Regions from separate parts of the Homo sapiens genome. Here regions 1, 3 and 4 are each linked to region 2. Evidence: promoter capture Hi-C in 16 types of primary human blood cells and fetal thymus (Javierre and others, 2016). All regions are on one chromosome and are shown on one strand. The core of a region is centred on a gene start or on the middle of the fragment in contact, and the rest is flanking DNA. Distances in the headings are between cores, read along the strand shown.

What was found. Contacts are between HindIII fragments. The CHiCAGO score rates a contact against its expected background, and 5 or more counts as called.
Region 1: a contact is called between a fragment that was not itself captured here and the fragment with the promoter of EGFLAM-AS5 in region 2, in 1 of 17 cell types (M0 macrophages). The highest score is 6.1, in M0 macrophages.
Region 3: a fragment that was not itself captured here is called in contact with the fragment with the promoter of EGFLAM-AS5 in region 2 in 1 of 17 cell types (naive CD8 T cells); the score reaches 5.0 in naive CD8 T cells.
Region 4: a fragment that was not itself captured here is called in contact with the fragment with the promoter of EGFLAM-AS5 in region 2 in 3 of 17 cell types (erythroblasts, endothelial precursors and M1 macrophages); the score reaches 6.8 in erythroblasts.

What each region holds. Positions count from the first base shown.
Region 1 is chr5:38,913,367-38,916,195 of GRCh38, forward strand. The region is part of intron 9 of OSMR (oncostatin M receptor); the gene reads left to right. Among named protein-coding and RNA genes, the nearest start is that of OSMR, 69 kb to the left of the region's middle. The HindIII fragment of the contact is 6,135 bases long and covers 1-2,829 here.
Region 2 is chr5:38,467,045-38,469,762 of GRCh38, forward strand. EGFLAM-AS5 (EGFLAM antisense RNA 5) reads right to left here and starts at 1,322. Exons shown (of 2, transcript NR_199676.1): 1 at 1,195-1,322. RefSeq lists enhancers at 1-421, 1,789-2,660. The HindIII fragment of the contact is 4,194 bases long and covers 606-2,718 here.
Region 3 is chr5:38,933,818-38,936,896 of GRCh38, forward strand. It overlaps OSMR (oncostatin M receptor), which reads left to right. Exons shown (of 18, transcript NM_003999.3): 18 at 1-1,824. Among named protein-coding and RNA genes, the nearest start is that of OSMR, 89 kb to the left of the region's middle. The HindIII fragment of the contact is 2,580 bases long and covers 280-2,859 here.
Region 4 is chr5:38,839,274-38,842,125 of GRCh38, forward strand. The region is part of intron 1 of OSMR-DT (OSMR divergent transcript); the gene reads right to left. Among named protein-coding and RNA genes, the nearest start is that of OSMR-DT, 5.1 kb to the right of the region's middle. The HindIII fragment of the contact is 2,093 bases long and covers 459-2,551 here.

The DNA.
Region 1 (2,829 bases), core at 292-2,791, 450 kb after region 2:
GTGAAACCCCGTCTCTACTAAAAATAGAAAAAAATCAGCCAGGCGTGGTGGTGGCTGCCTATAGTCCCAGCTACTCAAGAGGCTGAGGTGGAAGAAAGGCATGAACCCAGGAGGCGGAGCTTGCAGTGAGCAGAGGTCGTGCCACTGCACTCCAGCCTGGACGACAGAGTGAGACTCCATCTCAAAAAAAAAAAAAAAAATGGGTGAAAGACATGAACAGAGAGTTCTGAAGACATACAAGCAGCCAAAAAACATTAAAAAATGCTCAACATCACCAATCATCAGAAAAAGTCATATCAAAATCACAATGAGACACCATCTCACACCAATCAGAAAGGCTATTTTTAAAAATCTTTGCATGTTGTTACTGTTTTTATTCTTTAGCTACCCCAGGTAGCTTCTGTAGCAGTCAGCACCACTGTCCTGCTAGACCTTCTGTAAGTATTAAAAGCCAATGTTCTTACAAGAACGTTTTTGCACAGAAGGAGGTGTTACACAAAAAGGGGGAAGGTTAAGCTACTGTACGCATTTGTTTGCAATGTGTCATCTCACAGAACTCATCCCTGTAACCCCATCAGGGCAGGAGCCTTCTTCACATGTCTTCATAATATTTCTTAAGGGAGGCCATTTTCCACAGTGCTTCAGATCTCAAATGCAAGTGGAGCCTGACATAATAAAACTCTGGTTTCATTTCAACCATGATGCAGGGAATATATTCCATGTGTATTAATAGGTTGTAACAGTTTTCTAGGGCTTTAATAACACAGTACCACAGACTGAAGGACTTTAACAAGAGAAATTTAGTGTCTCATAATTATGGAGGCTAGAAATCTGACATCAAGCTGTTGGCTGAGGTTGTTTCTCAGAGGCCACTCTCTTTGGCTAGTAGATGGTCATCTATGTCTGCTCACAGGGTATTCTCTTGAGCGTCTCTGTGCATCTATTGCCTTTTCTAATGAGGACACAAGTCAAAATGGCTATTACTAAAAAGTCAAAAAGCAACAGATTCTGGGGAAGCTGCAGGGAAAAGGGAACACTTATACACTGTTGGAGGGAATATAAATTAGTTCAACCTTCGTAAAAAGCAGTTTGGAGATTTCTCAAAACAGAGCTACTGTTCCACCCAGCAATCCCATTACTGGGTATATATTCAAAGGAAAATAAATCATTCTACCAACACGCATATGTTCATCACAGCACTATTCACCATAGCAAAGACATGGACTCTACCTAGGTGCCCATCAATGATGGATTGGACAAAGAAAATATGGTACATATACACCATGGAATAAATAATGAAATAATGTTCCTCCCAGCAACATGGATGTAGCTGGAGGCCATTATCCTAAGCGAATTAATGCAGGAACAGAAAATCCAATACTGCATGTTCTCACTTTTAAGTGGGAACTGAACATTGGGTATTCATGAAAATAAAGATAGAAACAATAGACACTGGGGACTACTAGAAGGGGAAGGAAGGGAGGGGGCAAGCGTTGAAAAACTAACTGTTGGGTTCTATGCCCACTGTTTGGGTGATGGGATCATTCATATTCCAAACCTCAGCATTGCACAATATACCCATGTAACAAACATGCACATGTACTCCCTGACTCTAAATAAAATTATAAAAAGAGAGTTTCTAGGAAGTATTTTTAAAAGTATTTCAAAGGAAAGTAAAATGTAATAGGGAGGGATATGATTCACTAAATTTGATTATTAACTACAGAATGATGAAGTATTTGACTATGGTTTCACATGAATGAGTTATATGGAAATATGCTAAATTACTTTCAAGAACATAATAGCATGCACAAAGAAGTCTGGAGGTTAAAGTAGCACTCAGGTGATGGACTTTGAATTTATGTTTTCATAACCAACTCTAATTTAATGAAATCATAATTTCTCAAAAATTTGACAGCACTGGGATATGTATTTTGAAATATAGTAAACCCTATCAATGATAGTAGACTGGTAAAATACTGATTTGCACCTTTCAAAAAGGATGTTTTTCTCGATTAAAATAAAGTTTGTGATTTGGCAAACTGAGAGTTGGAAGAAAAGTTGGAAGAGTTGGAAGAAAAATAATTCATGTAAAGTTAAGGAACCTACTGATAAGTAATTTGGATTTTATATCATTACTCTAAAATGGAATCTGGACTATTAAACCATTAGATTATGAAACTAACAACTCTATATCACATCTTGTATTTAAATTGATTTTTGTTATCACAAAAGTTATTTAGGTTTGTAGCAGTGCTACTAACTCTCTTAATTAGATACTTGAATTTAATTCAGTTATTTTTATTAGGGGCTATGCTAAAATATTCAAGCTATCTTTAAGAATTAAAGGGAAGTTTCAAAGTAAACATTAAAAATAGAAGTCATATGAGACATGCTATAGTTGTATTTTCAAATTCAGAAAGCTGAAGCAGCACGTTCACAAAATGTGATTGAGTAGAGAGATAAAGATGTTTTTTATGTCTGGATTTAAAAATGAGATGTGCTGTTAGGACTCAGTTGCAGAATGACATCAATACCTGTGAGTCCCTTTCTTGTTTGTCTCCATGGATGTGCTATAATTGGGTCATCTATATCTTCATCAGTTAAAGCCTGATATTTCTTGTGGCTTATGAATGTTTTAAATTCTCTTTTGACTACTTCTTGTTGTACTATTCTTGTGAAGTTCATACCATGACAAAATTGTATCAGTAGAAAATTTGATTCTATGTGGAATACAGAGTATTACATAAATCCAACAAAACAATTTACAAACGAAAAGATGTACTCATCTTAATAGGACTTTCATAATATTTTTATCAATCAATGATT
Region 2 (2,718 bases), core at 72-2,571:
GAAGGATGGAGTGGGGCACGGGATCCTGAAAAGCTTTTCTCCCACAATCAGGGTCTGAGGAAATTCCCCGGAACCTCCCACATGTTCGAAGCAAGGGTGACCGGGTGTGGGGTGAGGATGTCCTTGCTTTTCCTATTAAGATGGCCTCCCATAACCCTGCATGTTCCTGGAGGCCCCACCTCAGGATTTCTCTCAGGAAGGTCTGTGGGGGTCTTCTGTGTCCCCCTTCTGCGGCTGCCCAGGCAGCTGCCCCGGCCTGCCCGCCGCTCTGAAGGCCGTGCCACTCTCCCACCCTGGTATTTGTCTTTCATTTCCTGACCCAGTCCTGCTCCCTTCTCCCGGCCCTCCAACACAAACAGGCCGGCTGGTGTCCACACACAGACTGCCCTGCTGGCACGGGCACTGGCGCTTTCCTGCTGCTGCCCCCTCTCCTTCCTCCCTGCCCACCTCCTCCCCTGGCCCTGCAGGAGCTGCTACCCCCTCCCTGCGTGGGAGGAAGGAGCTCGGAAAAGCGCCCGGAGTTGGAGCTGGCAGGCCCAGGGCTTTCCACTTGGAGGAAACGCTGCATTTTTCACCTTTAACCCAGAAAAATATGGTTCTCAGAAAGCTTGTTTTTAGCACTGTGAGTTCCCAAAGGAGGAAGAATAGGCAGTAGGGGGGCCCCCAGCCTCTCTGAGCTCCGACAGCAACCCCCACCCCAGAAGGCCGTTCTTCCTGGGAGGGAATGACCGAGGGGCAGCCTGCAGAGGCCCAGCTCCGAGAAAATAAAGGCAGAGAATTCCAGCTCCAAGCGGAAAGACAATACTTTAGGAGAGGAGCCTGGACAAGGCATGAGCCGCTTCCCACCTCCTCCCTGCCTCTTCCAGCTCCTGCCCAGTCCAGGAACGCATAGTAGTTGCCCTTGGAGCTGGGGGTCAGTCCGGGCGTGCCCACCACCGCCCAGACCCTTAGCTGAGAAGGGGGTAAGATTAGCTTATCAAAGGCGGGAACGACGTTCTCCAGCACTTTCTCCCTGCAGTGGGGAGAGAGCTGCCAGCATGGAATCAAAATTAGAATCTGAAATCAGGGGTCGTACAGCTTTAGCCCACTCCCACGTTATTTGTCAACATGGAGATGTGGGTCGTCCGACGGTATCCGAACTAGGGACTTATCCGGCACACGCTAAACAGAGAAGGGAAATGTAAGCAGCCCTACCTCAACCATTGTGAGGCCAGAAGTCCCAGGGCTGCCGGCATTTAAGCTGGTGGGTCCCGTGGAAGTGACAGGCTGCCGTAAGGAAGTTCCAGCTTACAGGTGGCTATGTTCGGGCCAGCAAAATGACTAATCCAATGCAACAGCATCAGCTGGCTTCTGGGCTAGGCCCTGTGAGTAACCGCACCGCAACCTCACAGTCAAAGAATGTTCACATATTTGATCTTCATAACAGTCCTCCTCCTATGATGGCTGGAGCAGATGGGCATGGCCTATTTGACTTAGGAAGACAGACACTGGCCACAAAGACTGGGTGACTTGCCCATGGTCCCATCACGAGGACGCAGCCACGATGCTGTCCCGTGGAGCTTTTCTGCCCTCACCCTGACCTCTGGTCAGGTGCAGTCTGCCCAGGGACACCCGCATTGTTGAGGGACATTCTGAGGCTCCCTTGGGTTAGCTGTCGTCTGCAGTATAGTCGTGTAAGTGAGGGAGATTCGGACAAAGGCCATGTCCCAAGAGTCTGCTTGCCAACGCATGCCAGTTTCTCATCACAGCCCTGAATCTGCCTTCTTTCAAAGGCCTTCTGTTGCAGGGACTCTGGGTTGAGCAAATCTGAAAGCAGAAACTAAAGAGCTAGTCCAGCAGGGTGGGATTCAGGCCCCTCTACGGGCAACTGGGTGTAGGTTAAATTCTTTTCCCTTCCCTCCTTTGCTTTCATCTCCACAAATAACCTCCATAACCCTGGGGAGTGGTTGCAAGCTATTTCTGCCCAGCAGCGTGTTCCCCTGGGCCCCTGCCTCGCCCCAGCCAAGCCACGAGCTGAAAGAACAGGGAAGGCAGCTGGGAAAGGCCTCCCCTGCCGCTCCTCTTCTTCCCGCTTGCTCTTGCTGAGGCATCTTTGTCCTAGAAAGTTCGTAGCTCCCAGGAGCACTTGCCATTTCCTGGAAAGACGGGAGAGAGAACATTATGTCTCAGCCCCTGGGAGGATGTCTCTTCTTTTCTATTTATCCATCTTGTCTTTCAGTTTTGCTCAAGATGCAAATGGTGTCCAGAGGCATAGAAATTTCCCAGCATGTGGCATGGCCTCCCCCGATGTCCCAGCTGCTCACCTACAAGCCAGGGCCCAGCCCGGGGCTATGACCTCCCCGAACAGCCTGCTGCCAAGGGGCTGCAGTTCTGACTTGGCTAGGAGAGGACTTGAGTTGGAATGTCTCTTCGAAGGAAGGCCAGGGAGGCTCAAGAAATTTGCCGTTTATACTCACTTAATAACAAAAGTAAGAGGCACCAGGCCAGGGGCTTAGCTAAGGAAAGCCCTGTTAGGAAATTGGCCAAAAGAAAGCGGAGGCAGAGAAAATGGACTATGAGGCAGAGAGAGCTGTGGGAGGAGAGGGGTATGGGGCCGCAGGGGTCGCAAGGCTCAGTGCGTGGTGACTTCCGGCCCTGCCGGTAGCATTCCATGTTCTCACTGAACGTGGGGTTCAGAGAGCAACTGTGGGGGTTCAGAATGAAATGGGGGGCCCTGTC
Region 3 (3,079 bases), core at 320-2,819, 470 kb after region 2:
TTCCATTAACAGCAATTATTATATTGAAGGCTTTAATAAAGGCCACAGGAGACATTACTATAGCATAGATTGTCAAATGTAAATTTACTGAGCGTGTTTTATAAAAAACTCACAGGTGTTTGAGGCCAAAACAGATTTTAGACTTACCTTGAACGGATAAGAATCTATAGTTCACTGACACAGTAAAATTAACTCTGTGGGTGGGGGCGGGGGGCATAGCTCTAATCTAATATATAAAATGTGTGATGAATCAACAAGATTTCCACAATTCTTCTGTCAAGCTTACTACAGTGAAAGAATGGGATTGGCAAGTAACTTCTGACTTACTGTCAGTTGTACTTCTGCTCCATAGACATCAGTATTCTGCCATCATTTTTGATGACTACCTCAGAACATAAAAAGGAACGTATATCACATAATTCCAGTCACAGTTTTTGGTTCCTCTTTTCTTTCAAGAACTATATATAAATGACCTGTTTTCACTTAGCATCCTTTGGACTCTGCAGTAGGTTGTCTGGGTCAAGATAACTCTCAGTCACATTTATATTCATATTATGCTAAAATAGTAAAATGAAACCTCATTGTTGGACATAATTTAGATATAACTAAAAAGTTCTATGAAGTGGGAAATTCCGTGTTGGCTCTGGAGCAGCTTTGTCTCCTCTGAACCAATATATCCCAAACCAATATATGCAAAGCACCTGGTACACAACTGGTATTTTAGTACATGTTGGTTCTTTTGGTGCAATCTCAGCTCACTGCAGCTTCCGCCTCCTAGATTCAAACAAACAGTTCTCCTGCCCCAGCCTCCAGAGCACCTAGGACTCCAGGTGCATGCTACCACACCTGACTAGTTTTTATATTTTTAGTAGAGATTGGGTTTTACCATATTGGCCAGGCTGGTCTCAAACTCCTGACCGCAGGTGATCCACCTGCCTCAGCTTCCCCAAGGGCTGGGATTACAGGTGTGAGCCACCATGCCCAGCCTATTTGTCACATTATTTGTCACATTTATTTTACTTTTATTTATTTTTTGAGATGAAATTTCGCTCTTGTTGCCCAGGCTGGAGTGCAATGGTGCAGCCTTGGCTCACTGCAACCTCCGCCTCCCAGGGTCAAGCAATTCTCCTGCCTCAGCCTCCTGAGTAGCTGGGATTACAGGCATGCACCACCACACCCAGGTAATTTTGTATCTTTAGTAGAGATGGGGTTTCACCATGTTGGTCAGGCTGTTCTCGAACTCCTGACCTCAGGTGATCTGCCTGCCTTGGCCTCCCAAAGTGCTGGGATTACAGGCGTGAGCCACTGCGCCTAGCCGTCACATTTCTAAACAAGCATGAAAGGGGTTCATTTTTGTCTTCTTCTTGCCTGCCGTCAGCATGGTGGAAATGGCTCTGCCTATGCTCATGCTTCTGGTGCCCAATGCCTTGCACTGTGCCATTCAACACTATGAAGAGAAACAAGTAGCCACACCTCAAAATAATGTGGCTGTCAACAACTGGCCTAAATAAACCTACACAAACCAGTACTTGCCTTTTGCTGGAAACATTGATTATGTGCTCCTCACGTAGTAGAAAGCGGTATCCTGATTAGTCTAACAGTTGTGTTAGACTTTAGGGCCAGTATTGTCAGCATTTATTTATTTATGTACCTTTGTTATGATGGGATATTTTTCATTTGAAACTTGTTCATAAAAATGTCAATGACATTGATGACTGATTTGTACATATTTTTCATATAGTTTTGTTTAAAAAATAATTCACGCAAAATCTTGAAGTCATTTTTGCTATTGAAATAAACCTTAATTAAAATATTTCATCATCACATTGTGTTTTATCTCCCTCAATGAAATGAAAATCTAGTAATTACTCAGTTTAGATGATACATCACCTCATGAACTTACTAAATAAAAATGTAAATTCCTGGGTATGACTACAAACCTCTTAATCAGAATCTTTGGGGCATGGACCTGGAATCTATTTTTTATCATCAGTTCCCAGGCATTCATCTACACACTAAACTTTGAGAATCACTCGCCTAAATCAAATGAAGTCTTTCTGAAATATAACAACATGCCAATAGGAAATGCTGGGCTCTGTAACATTTGTCTTCATAGTATCACTATGACCTGTAGTCTTGGCTGTAAACATTTCGTCTCCAATGGTCATAACCAAATAAATTCACGTTCAAAACCTTAGTTTTCAATACTATATGCCATCTTAACATGGCTTTAGGAAGTGCTATTCAGAAACTTTGAAATAATACATATTCATGTGTCAGGAAAATAATAATGGACAATTTCAAATAAATATATACACAAAAGTAGAATAGTTTAATAAACCACTATGTATCATCACTAGCCCCAATGGTCACTACCCATGACTGTTTCAGCTCCATCCACACCCCTGTTCGCTTTCTCCTCACATTGTTTTGAAGCAAATCATGATATCATGATTTCATGTCAATATCTGAGTTCTCTAAATAAGCTCTACTTTTTCTAATAGTCATAATATTGTTAAAATTGCACCTAAAATCACAGTAATAATTCCTTAAAAAAAATCAATCAGGATATTTGGGTGGTGGATGGATGGGACTGGCATATATGGCCTTTACATCCTGCGTCAGCCTGTGCACGGTCCTCACCTGTGTGTGGGGGAACTCGACAATTCAAGATGGGAGTTGGGACCTCTTCACACAACAGTACGACTGCTGAAACGCTTCCTACATTCAAACACCTAACCCATACTAATTAGGGTCAACCTTGTTACCTACTAGAATGTGTATTGATGAAGAACGTCAAGACTTACTTAATAATATCTTCTTATTAAACACTTCTAAGAGTTCTGTTGAAAGATGATAAGCTTTCATCTCAAATAATTTACAAAGCATGTTAAAGCAGTCTGCATAAAGTAGAACTTTTAAAACTCTGGAAGAGAGAAAGTAGAAGACAGTTTTCACAACTTTCAGTTAAAATGTTTACAACACAATAGGTATATTCAATTTGAAAGCATAGTTGTTTTATTCCTCTAAGCATTAAGGAAAGTTGTTTTAGTATATTTTAGTTTCTTAAAATCAATAC
Region 4 (2,852 bases), core at 255-2,754, 370 kb after region 2:
TGCAGAAAAGGTACTAAAAAGATATACAGGCTGAAAAATTCTCCAATTTGGTAAAAGACATAAATTTATAAATTCAAGAAGCTTAGCAAATGCCAGGCAGGGTAAATAATAATTTTAAAACTTCTAAGCACATAGTTGATAAACTATTGACAATCAAAGATAATGAGAAAATATTTAAACCAGAGAAAAAATGACACATTATATTGACAGAGGAAAGAAGAATCAAATAATGGCTGACTTCTCATCAGAAGCAATGAAAGGCAGTAAAATGTAGAACAGTATCTTTAAATAGTTGAAAGAAAATAGAATTCTATCCAACAAAAATATTCCTTGAGGACGAAGTGAAATAAAGATATTTTCAAATAAAATAAGACTAATACTATGTATCTCCAATAGACTTCCAATAAAAAATATACTAAAGTAAGTTTGTTAGGCTTACAGAAATGCTACCAGAGAGAAGCTTAGATCTTTGGGAAGGATTTAAGAACATTAAAGGTAAATATGTGTATAAATATAAAAGAGTAGTTTTCCTCTTAATTTCTTTAAAATACATACTATATTGTGGGTTTTATCTTGTCTGTAGATGTAATACACTTTACAACTATAGTGTAAAGGATGGGGTGTGTGGTTAAATGGACCTATTAAGTGAAAAGGTACAATACTATTTCAAGTACACAGTGAAATTTAAGAATGTACACTGTAATCCATAGAGAAAACATTAAGACATCATGCAAAGAGAAATAAGAAAAAGACAAAGGCAAATAAAAATGAAATTTAAAAAGCGTTCAAAGGCAGATATGGTGGCTCATGCTTGTAATATCAGCTACTTGGGAGGCTGAGGCGGAAGGATCGCTTAAGGTCAGGAGTTTGAGACCAGCCTGGGCAATGGAGTGAGACCCCAACTCTAAAAAAATTAAAATGGAAATATAAAAAGATAAAAAGTATTTATATAGTCCAGAAAAAAAAGAAGAAAAAGAAGAATAAAAAAACAAAACCAGAGAGAACAAAACACAAAACCTATAGTAAAATGGTAGGCTAAACACAAGCATATCAATAACTGCCTTAAATATAAGTCTACTAAACACTCTCTATCAAATTAAAATGCAGAGATTGTCAGTCAACTTCTAAAAAAAAGTCTCAACTATATGTTTTCTGTAAGAGATTCAGTTTAAATATAAACACAACTATAGACTTATTTCGGATCAACCTTAAGCCAATAGTTTTCAAATATCCAGAAAGTTCCCATCTAATTCTCTCCAAAGTATTTCTCTCTCACTGTATTAATGTTCTAAACTTTAGCATTAACAACTGCACTCAAATTTAGTAAGTGCCATAACCACAGGCCAAGAGAATAAAAGCAGCTATCAATATTCAATATTTTCCCTAAAGTCCCTGAGGGAAAAAAAGTAAAAGATCCAGGGAGGTTCTCCTCATTGTCTGGTTTCTGATGACTTCTGGAAGAAGGTGTGAGCACAATTACAACATCTGGAAGAGGGTGGAATGTGCAAAATCCATCCATCAATCAATCAATCAATTTTCAGATAATATCTAGTTTAATCAAGGAATTCCTGTAGAATTATTGTGGATAATATTATTCATCACTTAAGAGATTTTGAAAGAAAAGCAATTCATCATTAAGTAATTATAGGGAATTCCTAAAATGATAAAATGAGAAAGTCCCACATAGTCTTCTTACGCTCAACATCTTGCTTTGTCATTGCAGTGCCACTTTTTTGGATATTTAGAAGTGTTAGATGTGTAACTGCACCAGACCAGTCTGGTTCAACTTTTTTTTTTTCTTCCAATTTTTATTTTAGGTTCAGGGGGTAGATGTGCAGGTTTGTTATGTGGGTAAGTTGTGTGTCAAGGAGGGGATTGGTGTACAGATTATTTCATTACCTAGGTAATAAGCATAGCACCTGATAGGTAGTTTTTCAATCCTCACCCTCCTCCCTCCAGTAGGCTTTGGTGTCTATTGTTCCATCTTTGTGTCCATGTGTATTCAATGTTTAGCTCCCACTAATAAGAATATGCAGTGTTTGGTTTTCTGTTCCTGTGTTAATTAGCTGGTTCAACTTTATGGTTCACCATTTATATAGCGAAGCTGTGAGTTGTTTTTTAGTTGCCATGGACCCCCAGGTTGAAGGTCATGTAACTTGAGGAGGCTCAGATGAACTAAGAATGCAACCATGGGCAGAACCTAAATGCTTGGATCACTAAATTAAGAAGTGGACACCACATGGCAGGATCCAGGATCCAATGAGATTGCGCCCTGGTGTCACCTCATGGCAGGATCTAGTCAGATGGTGCCTCCCAGCCTCACCTTATTGCAAGATGCAATCAGGTCATGCCTTGTTACCCTCTGGCTATAAAACCTGACCCAAGTGCCAGGTGGGGACACAGATTTGAGCCAGACCCGTGTCCTTGCTTGGTAGCCTTGCAATAAATTTTTCATGCTATGAAAACCGAGTGTTTTGGTGTTTGGCTTTCCATTGCACAGTGGGCAAATGGACCCAGTTCAGTTCAGTAACAGATGTCCTTTAATTAATCAAGCTTTATGATAAATTTCAGATTAAATTTTTTTTTGGAAGACCTGTTTAGCTTTCCACAAAATAATTATTTCCACAAAATAATTTTAATTTCCAATAACTTTTTTTTAGAAATAAGGCCAATATCACCACCAATAATAATCACAGAGGCACGCGTTAAGGCCTAAAAGTGAATCTTTAAGATGTCAATGTCAGCTGGGCACTGTGGCTCACATCTATAATCCCAGAAATCTGGGAGTCTGAGGTGGGTAAATCACTTGAGCCTAGGAGTTCGAGACCAGCCTGGAGAACATGGCAAAACCC